2 separate regions of the Homo sapiens genome follow, and region 1 is linked to region 2. The links are contacts of gene promoters, found by promoter capture Hi-C in human tissues and cell types (Jung and others, 2019). All regions are on one chromosome and are shown on one strand. The core of a region is centred on a gene start or on the middle of the fragment in contact, and the rest is flanking DNA. Distances in the headings are between cores, read along the strand shown. Region 1 overlaps SGPP1 (sphingosine-1-phosphate phosphatase 1). Region 2 holds the start of MTHFD1 (methylenetetrahydrofolate dehydrogenase, cyclohydrolase and formyltetrahydrofolate synthetase 1).

Evidence for each region. Contacts are between HindIII fragments. The study calls those that stand out against the background at their distance.
Region 1: a fragment that was not itself captured here is called in contact with the fragment with the promoter of MTHFD1 in region 2 in 1 of the 25 tissues and cell types used here (dorsolateral prefrontal cortex).

The regions. Positions count from the first base shown.
Region 1 is chr14:63,721,769-63,725,810 of GRCh38, reverse strand. All of the region lies in intron 1 of SGPP1 (sphingosine-1-phosphate phosphatase 1), which reads left to right. Among named protein-coding and RNA genes, the nearest start is that of SGPP1, 4.3 kb to the left of the region's middle. The HindIII fragment of the contact is 5,155 bases long and covers 1-4,042 here.
Region 2 is chr14:64,386,207-64,390,510 of GRCh38, reverse strand. It overlaps MTHFD1 (methylenetetrahydrofolate dehydrogenase, cyclohydrolase and formyltetrahydrofolate synthetase 1), which reads right to left and starts at 2,158. Exons shown (of 28, transcript NM_005956.4): 1 at 2,043-2,158. The coding sequence starts at 2,083. RefSeq lists enhancers at 2,306-2,395, 2,916-2,975, 2,996-3,095. The HindIII fragment of the contact is 7,460 bases long and covers 1-4,304 here.

The DNA of each region.
Region 1 (4,042 bases), core at 1,237-3,736, 670 kb after region 2:
TGCCTTCTCAGTGAGTAGCTATTTTGTATGCTATTAGTATTAGCAGTCAAAGTAAGAGAAAATAGCTATTTTTGCTCTTTATTTGTTCTGGACACATACTAACTGGAAGTCTGAAAACAGTACTGCTGAATCGTTTATGGGATATTGATATTCTAACATTTCAGGGTTATTTGAATTATCAGAATAAGCTTAGATTTAGTTTTTAAACAACCTAGTATATTTAACTCAAAGTTTAAGAAATTTGCGTATCATAGAATTTTAGACTTTGAAGTAGACCGGATGTTAGAAATCACTTAGTTTCAAACTGTCATTTTACAGATGTGCAAACTGACCAGTTACATTAAAATTAATCTTGTAATGCTTTAAATTTCTTATTTTACATTTTTTCACTCTAAATTTGCATGATTTTTCGGTTAGTTGTTCTGAAAGAAAGCCTCCTGACGGAGTCTCGCTCTGTTGCCCAGGCTGGAGTGCAGTGGTGCAGTCTCGGCTCACTGCAACCTCTGCCTCCCAGGTTCAAGCAATTCTCTGCCTCAGCCTCCCGAGTAGCTGGGATTACAGGCGCCTACCACCACACCAGCTAATTTTTTAAGGATTTTTAGTAGAGATGTGGTTTCACTGTTTTGGCCAAGCTGGTCTTGAACTCCTGACCTCAGGGGATCCACCCATCTCGGCCTCCCAAAGTGCTGGGATTACAGGCGTGAGCCACTGCGCCTGGCCTAAGCCTCCTTTATATGAAAGTTCTGTGTTTATAAATGTTTGACTAATAATCCAGTACAAAAAACAAGATGGCTTTTTAACCTTTTTCCTTTTTTTTTTCCCTAAGAGTCGGGGTCTCACTATATTGCCTAGGCTGGTCTCGAACTCCTGGGCTCAAGTTATCCTCCCTCCTTGGCCTCCCAAGTGCCAGCTTTTCCTTTTTTTTTTTTAAGACGGAGTCTCGCTCTGTTGCCCAGGCTGGAGTGCTGTGGCGCAATCTCGGCTCTCTGCAATCTCCTGATCTCAATCAGGAGATTGAGACCATCCTGGCTAACACAGTGAAACCCCGTCTCTACTAAAAAATACAAAAAATTAGCCGCCCCCCGCTCATCGGCCTCCCCACCACTGGCCTCCCAGAGTGCTGGCATTACAGGCGTGAGCCACCGCGCCTGGCCTCCTTTTCCTTTTCCTTTTTTTTTTTTTTTTTTTTTTTTTAAAGATCCTTGTTATCTATTGAAAACAAAAGTACCTTCCTTTGCTTCAGCTGTTTGGGTCCTCTACTCTGTGAATTAGTATTGTACTGCATTGGAGGCTTATATAGAAAGCCTTTCCCCTAGAAACTGGGGGAAGAATTAAATAATGAAAGCCTGGTGTTTTTCTAATAAGTTTTGGTTGGCAGTCTTGCCTATCTGCTGTGCCTCAGCTGCTTATTTGGGACAGGTATGGTTACTTATATATGCCTGGCGTGCTGAAACATCTCTTGAAACTGAGTTCTATACCATTCCTTTGTCTTGGCTTTACTACTTCACTACTACCTACTACTTAATGTTTCTGCCCTCATTGAAATTTGCTCAAGATTCACCACCCAGAGCATTTTAAATTAATCCTTTCTGTTTCATTATTCCTCACTTACACTTAAAATGACAGTATATGGCCAGGTGTAGTGGTTCATCCCTGTACACCTAGCACTTTGGGAGGCTGAGGCGGAAGGATCCCTTGAGCCCAGGAGTTGGAGACCAGCCTGGGCAATATAGCGAGACCCTGTCTCTGCAAAAAAAAATCAAAAATCAGCTGGGCATGGTGGCGCATGCCTGTAGTTCTAGCTACTAGGGAGGCTGAGGTGGGAGCATCACTTGAGCCTGGGAGGTTGAGGCTGCAGTGAGGTGTGATTGCACCACTGCACTTCAGCCTAGATGACAGGGCAAGACCCTATCTCAAAAAAAAAAGACAGCGTACAAACTCGGGGTTGTTTAAAAATGCAGATTTCTACATTTCCCAGGGTAAGTTTCCCAGAGATTCTGACCCATTAGATGAGTGAGGAGTTAGTTGTATTTCTTCAAGATTGCTGTCTCAGCTTCTTTGAAATTCCAGTCTTTGAATTTTTTTTTTTTTTGAGACGAAATCTCTCTTTGTCACCCAGGCTGGAGTGTGGTGGTGTGATCTTGTCTCACTGCAAACTCTGCCTCCCCGGTTCAAGCGATTCTCCTGCCTCAGCCTCCTCAGTAGCTGGGACTACAGGCGCACACCACCACCCCCGGCTAATGTTTGTATTTTTAGTAGAGACGGGGTTTCACCATGTTGGCCAGGATGGTCTCGATCTCTTGACCTCGTGATCCACTCCCCTCAGCCTCCCAAAGTGCTGGGATTACAGACGTGAGTCACTGCACCCTGCCTGAATTTTTTTAAGGTACGTTATAAGACAAAGGAGAGATTGGAATAGTATAGCTCCAAGTAATTACTTAAAGAGTTTTGTATATAAATTTTATGGTGATGGAGGATAGAAAATGTTATGACCTTTTCCCAAGGATTAAATAACTTGAGATCCATTGCCTAGGATAATGGTTATTGCTCTCATATTATTCATTGGAATTTTTTGTAGCCTGAATTGGAAAAAAAATTAAGAAATAAGGAGCATCTGATATAAAGACAATAAATAGTCCTTTGAAGAATAAGATAAACAATATGACGTTCCTTTTCCATTTATGTTTGCATGTTCTTTTCAAAAATAAAATTTCTTAATTTTTAAAGCTCTGTTTGACTTGAATTAATTTAATTTTTAAATAATATGGAATGTAATCAGTTTTAACTGTATACTTTATTTAATTAGAAGGTTTTAGATTAATTTTTTTTTTTTTTTTTTGAGACAGGGTCTTACTCTGTCGCTCAGACTGGAGTACAGTGGCACGATTCCGGCTCACTGCAGCCTCGACCTCCCAGGCTTAAGTGATCCTCCCACCTCAGCCTCCCAAGTAGCTGGGACCACAGGCACACACTACCACCAGCTAATTTTGTTTGTTTGTTTGTTTGTTATAGAGACGGGGTTTTGCCATGTTGCTTAGGCTGGTCTTGAACTCCTGAGCTCAAGTGATCCTCCCACCTCGGCCTCCCAAAGTGCTGGTATTACAGGCGTCAGCCACCTTGCCCTGCTAAAAATTAGCTGTAGCACTTACTTTATAGACAACTCATTGCCAACTAGTCTTTCATTTTGTGTGCTTTTACTACTTTTTATTATAATAATTATATTTTATAATAATAATGTTATAGCATTGTTAATATTTTTATTTTTTATTTTTTATTTTTTGAGATGGAGTCTCACTCTGTTGCCCAGGCTGGAGTGCAGTGGTGCGATATTGGCTCACTGCAACCTCTGCCTCCTGGGTTCAAGTAGTTCTCCTACTTCAGCCTCCTGAGTAGCTGGGATTACAGGCACGCCCCACCACGCCCGGCTAATTTTTTTTTTTTTTTTTTTTCAATAGAGACAGGGTTTCACCATGTTGGTCAGGCTAGCCTCTAACTCCTGACCTTGTGATCTGCCCACCTTGGACTCCTAAAGTGTTGGGATTACAGGCATGAGCCACTGCGCCCAGCTGTTAATATATATTTTTAAGCACTTACTATGAATCAGACATTGTTTGAAATGTCTTTTATCTCATTTACTCTTCTATAATACCCCAATGTTCCTATTACTAGCATGGGTTTACAGATGAGGAAACTGAGGTACAGGGAGGTTATATTATGTAACTTAAGCAAAGTAACCTAGCCAGTAAGTGTCAGGGGCTCAGACTGACTCAGCAGCTTATATAGAAAATTCATTTTAAATCACACTTTGTGTGTGATTTTTAAGGTATGCTTGCAGTAATATTATTTTTGAAATATATGATTGTATTCTTAAAATATGAGAATAGCTTTTATATACCTTGAGAAGATAATTTGTGTTTGTGTATGTACATACATATGCAACATCCACAAATATTTGTGTTTTAAACATGTATGAAGATGTTGACTGAAATCAAATGCTGATTTGTCACCTAATATAAATAAAAAATTTGATAAACATAGTAAG
Region 2 (4,304 bases), core at 909-3,408:
TCCATCTCAAAAAAAAAAATTAGCTAGGCGTGATGGCGGGCACCTGTAATCCCAGGTACTCAGGAGGCTGATATGAGAGAATTGCTTGTATGCAGGAGGCAGAGGTTGCAGTGAGCCAAGATTGGACACAGCAAGACTTCATCTCAAAAAAAAAAATAGATCTCAAGGCAGCAGCTACCATGTAAAAAAAAAAAAAGATAATGAATCATTCATATATACATTAACTAATTACTGATTATTAATACAACATATATCGAATACTTATTATGTGCCAGGAAGAATTATAAATGATCATCTGTTAGGAACCCATTTAATTCTACTAACATCCCAATGACCTAGACATTACTTTTACTTAACATTTGAGGAAACTTTGGCACAGAAAGGTTAATTAATTTGCTTAAAACCACACAAGTAGTAAGGCAGGAAACAGGGTTTCCAGGTGTTTAGGATATAGACAAAAATAAGACAATACATGTATTTGCCCTTATGGAGTTGATAAACATATTTAATTTGCTCTCCAATTAACGAAAGTATATTCAGTGAGCACCTATTCTCAGTACTGGCCCAGATGCATTATTATTGTACTAAATTATCTGCACTATTATTATGCACTAAATTATCTCTTCACAATCAGTCTTTCTAAAAGGAAGATTTTTATATTAAAACAAAAAGCCACTGGAAAAGGAAGTAAGTTTGAATACAAGCAAACAAAAACAGAAAGTAAAGCAGAAATACAGTTTAGCAAGCCACATGTTGAAAAGCACTAAGCAGTAAGTATTGTGATTTCTTTTTTTTTTTTTCTTAGACGGAGTTTCGCTCTTGTTGCCCAGGCTGGAGTGCAATGGCGCATCTCAGCTCACTGCAACCTCTGCCCCCCAGGTTCAAGTGATTCTCCTGCCTCAGCCTCCCAAGTAGCTGGGATTACAGATGCCTGCCACCACACTCGGCTAATTTTTTGTATTTTTAGTAGAGATGGGGTTTCACCATTTTGGATAGGCTGGTCTTGAACTCCAGACCTCAGGTGATCCACCCACCTCGGCCTCCCAAAGTGCTGGGATTACAGGCATGAGCCACTGGGCCCGGACTTTTCACCACCGATGACTTTGTAATTCACTCAAAAACCTATTACAAAGTTAGGAGTTACAGGACAATTACAATTTAGTAACTGCTGTGGCTGGCAACAGTTACTTACATAACGGGTGATGTGAAAGGTCCCAAGAGCAAACTCAGTAAGGTCACACAGAATATATCTTTCCCTCCTTCATCTACTAGAGGGAATATATTTTTCCCTCTTCCTTCTACTCTCATTTTTCCTCACCAGTCACCTCCCAGACAAAAAGCAGCCAGTGTTACTTCCTGGGAGTAAAGCTGGCAACGATACCCACTAATTAAGCATTCAGATGTCCCGCAAGGGTAGAACAGGCAGAGGTCAAGTGGAATGCAGAATATTCTCAGGACTCAGGAGCCAAATTACGTTTCAAGTAACTCTAGGACCAGGGCAGAGAGATGGCTGTTAGAGAGAAGCACGAGATTGAAGAGAAAGGAAAAATGTATTAGATTTCACTTAGCGTATGATAAGACTATGGTATAGTGGGAAAAGCTATGAGCTGGAAGGACCCTCTGTCATTATCAGCCTTGTAGTCTTGTCAAGCCTTGTCACCTCACTAGTCTCCATCTACTCACCTCCAAATTAACGGGAATTAAGTAGATTGGATTTCTGAGTTCTGACTAGGGGGGCTCCAGGAAGCCGCAACTACCCACTCTCCCGGCAGAAAGTCACCAGCAGCTGCGCGTTTGGGAGCATAGTCGGCACAGGACTTTTCCCCGAAGCACAGGAGCCAGCGGCTACAGCCACTAGGCAGTCCACTTGCAAACGCAGGTTGTGCCCGGGTTCTCTTTCTTTGGCTGCAGGTCTTCAGGTGTTATGGGCCTAACTCTTCCGCTACAAGTGTCCCTCCCGCAAAAAATGGGTCCGGGGGACCTGCACACCCTCAGAGCCCTCGTCCACAGCCCCACACTCAACAACAATGTCAGGTGCTTACGCGGAGATCTCCTTCCCGTTCAGGATTTCTGCTGGCGCCATGGCCTTTATTAGTCCGCTGCCCACGATGGACACCACCAATATCGAGGTTCCACTCCCTCCGCAGCCAAGCAGGACAACCCAACCCACGTGCTTAGGGACTGGCCAGGGGATCACACTACTGCGCCTGCGCCCCTGCCCGCTTCTCCCCCTGCAGACGCGGTGGCGCATGCGCAGTTCGGAAGGACCCGAGTCCCTTAACTAACCGAGAGCTAACAGGTCGGGGACTGCGGGACGGAAGAGGGAGGGGAAGATGAAGAAAATCGGTGATGAATGGCTGGCGGAAATGATTGGCGGAAAGAAAGAGCCAGTTCACAGTGCGCCTTTGTATTCGGCGGGAAACCCGGCCGAAGAGGGAGCTGGAAAGGACTCCGGAATCCGGCCGTAATTCCAGCCAATCAGGGAGTAGAGTTGCGGGGCGGGGTTGGGGCGGGGCAGTCTCGCGGGAGATAGTTTCGCGGGTTCGGGAGGCGAGTCTCCGGTTTCCGCCCAGTCTCTGGGGACGCGGTGGCGGGGTCTGAATCGCCTGGCTTCCAGGGAGTTTTGGGCGGGTCCCCGCACGGGAGCGTGGCAGGCGCTGGACTCGACAGCAGATGTGGAACTGGAGAGCTTGGCGCGCCCTCATACTTTGTCACACACCTACGCCACCAGACTGGGGTCGGGCCCCTCCGCGTTCTGCTCTGGAGGGCCTGGGTCTGGGCCCAGCATAGCGCTTTTAGAATCTCCTCAGCTGAATCTGACGCTCAGCCGTAGGTGAAGCTTAGCCCGCTGTTTCAGGCCCCGCCGATCTGGAAGGAGTGTCAGAGCTGGAGCGCGCGTGGCCTCATCGGTGTTGGGGTCACCCCGGGGTTGCCAGGGCTCATGGAGGGTCGTAGTCTGGATTTTGTCACCCCCACGTCCCCGCCCCGCAGCAAGTCTGGGGTTGGAGAACTCACGCGGTCTTCGTAAGCTACATGCCAGTTGACCCTCGAGGAGGGATGCTCCCTCCCCTTAAGCGTCCACGCTGGAGAAGGAGTAAGATGGACAATTGCCTGGGGAGCCTGACAGGGCGGTGGCAGCTGGGATGCTGGAGAGGACTGGCCCCTTGTGTTACTGAGTCCAAGGAATATGCTTGCTCTGCTCTAGGAACCGCGTTCAGGTTACAGTCATCCCAGTAGAGTCCTGAAGATGCGTGGTTCAGGTCACTTAGGACTTGACCAGATACCGGGTTTCTTTTACAAGCCGTTTACTACTGGCAGAGCTCATCTAAAACTTTTTTTGTTTGTTTGTTTGAGACGGAGTCTCATTCTGTCGCCCAGGCTGGAGTGCAGTGGCACGATTTTGGCTCACTGCAACCTCCGCTTCCCGGGTTCAAGCAGTTCTCTGCCTCAGCCTCCCGAGTAGCTGGGATTACAGGCACCACCTAATTAGCCCGCCACCACGCCCGGCTAATTTTTGTATTTTTAGTAGAGACGGGGTTTCACCATCTTGGCTAGGCTGGTCTTGAACTCCTGACCTCGTGATCCACCCGCCTCGGCCTCCCAGAGTGCTGGGATTACAGGCGTGAGCCACCGCACCTGGCCTAAAACTGATTTTTTATTAATTTTGGGGCTTTTAATATTTTTTTCTTATTTCTAAATTCTGAGGTTATTTATAGTAGCCCCATATACGGGATTAGATAATCTCTTGTGATTTTCTATTTCTGGTAATTATTTCTAATATATGTTTTTTTGTTTTTGAGACGGAGTCTCGCTATGTCGCTCAGGGTGGAGTGCAGTGGCATGATCTCCGCTCTTTGTAGCCTCTGCCTCCCGGGTTCAAATGATCCTCCCACCTCAGCCCCCCGAGTAGCTTGGACCACAGGTGCATGCCACCACGCCGGCTAATTTTTCTATTTTTGGTAGAGTTGGGGTTTCACTATGTTGACCAGACTGGTCTAGATCTCAAGGGATTAGTCTCCCTTGGCCTCCCAAAATGCTGGGATAATGGGCATGAGCCACCGTGCGTGGCCTTAAAGTTACTATTCTTAAAGTTTGCACAAGTGATATGTTAAAGGCACAGACTTAGTAATATAATGTCATTATAATAATAACCCTAAAACACATTGTCTCATATTGTGTTGTACCTAAACAAGTGAAATTAAGAAGAAAATTGAAGGAAATGTTTCTGGTAAATTGCAGATAGTGAATCTTTTGTCTTATACTATCAAATAGGTATTGACTATTCCAGCTTTCTTATTTGTTGA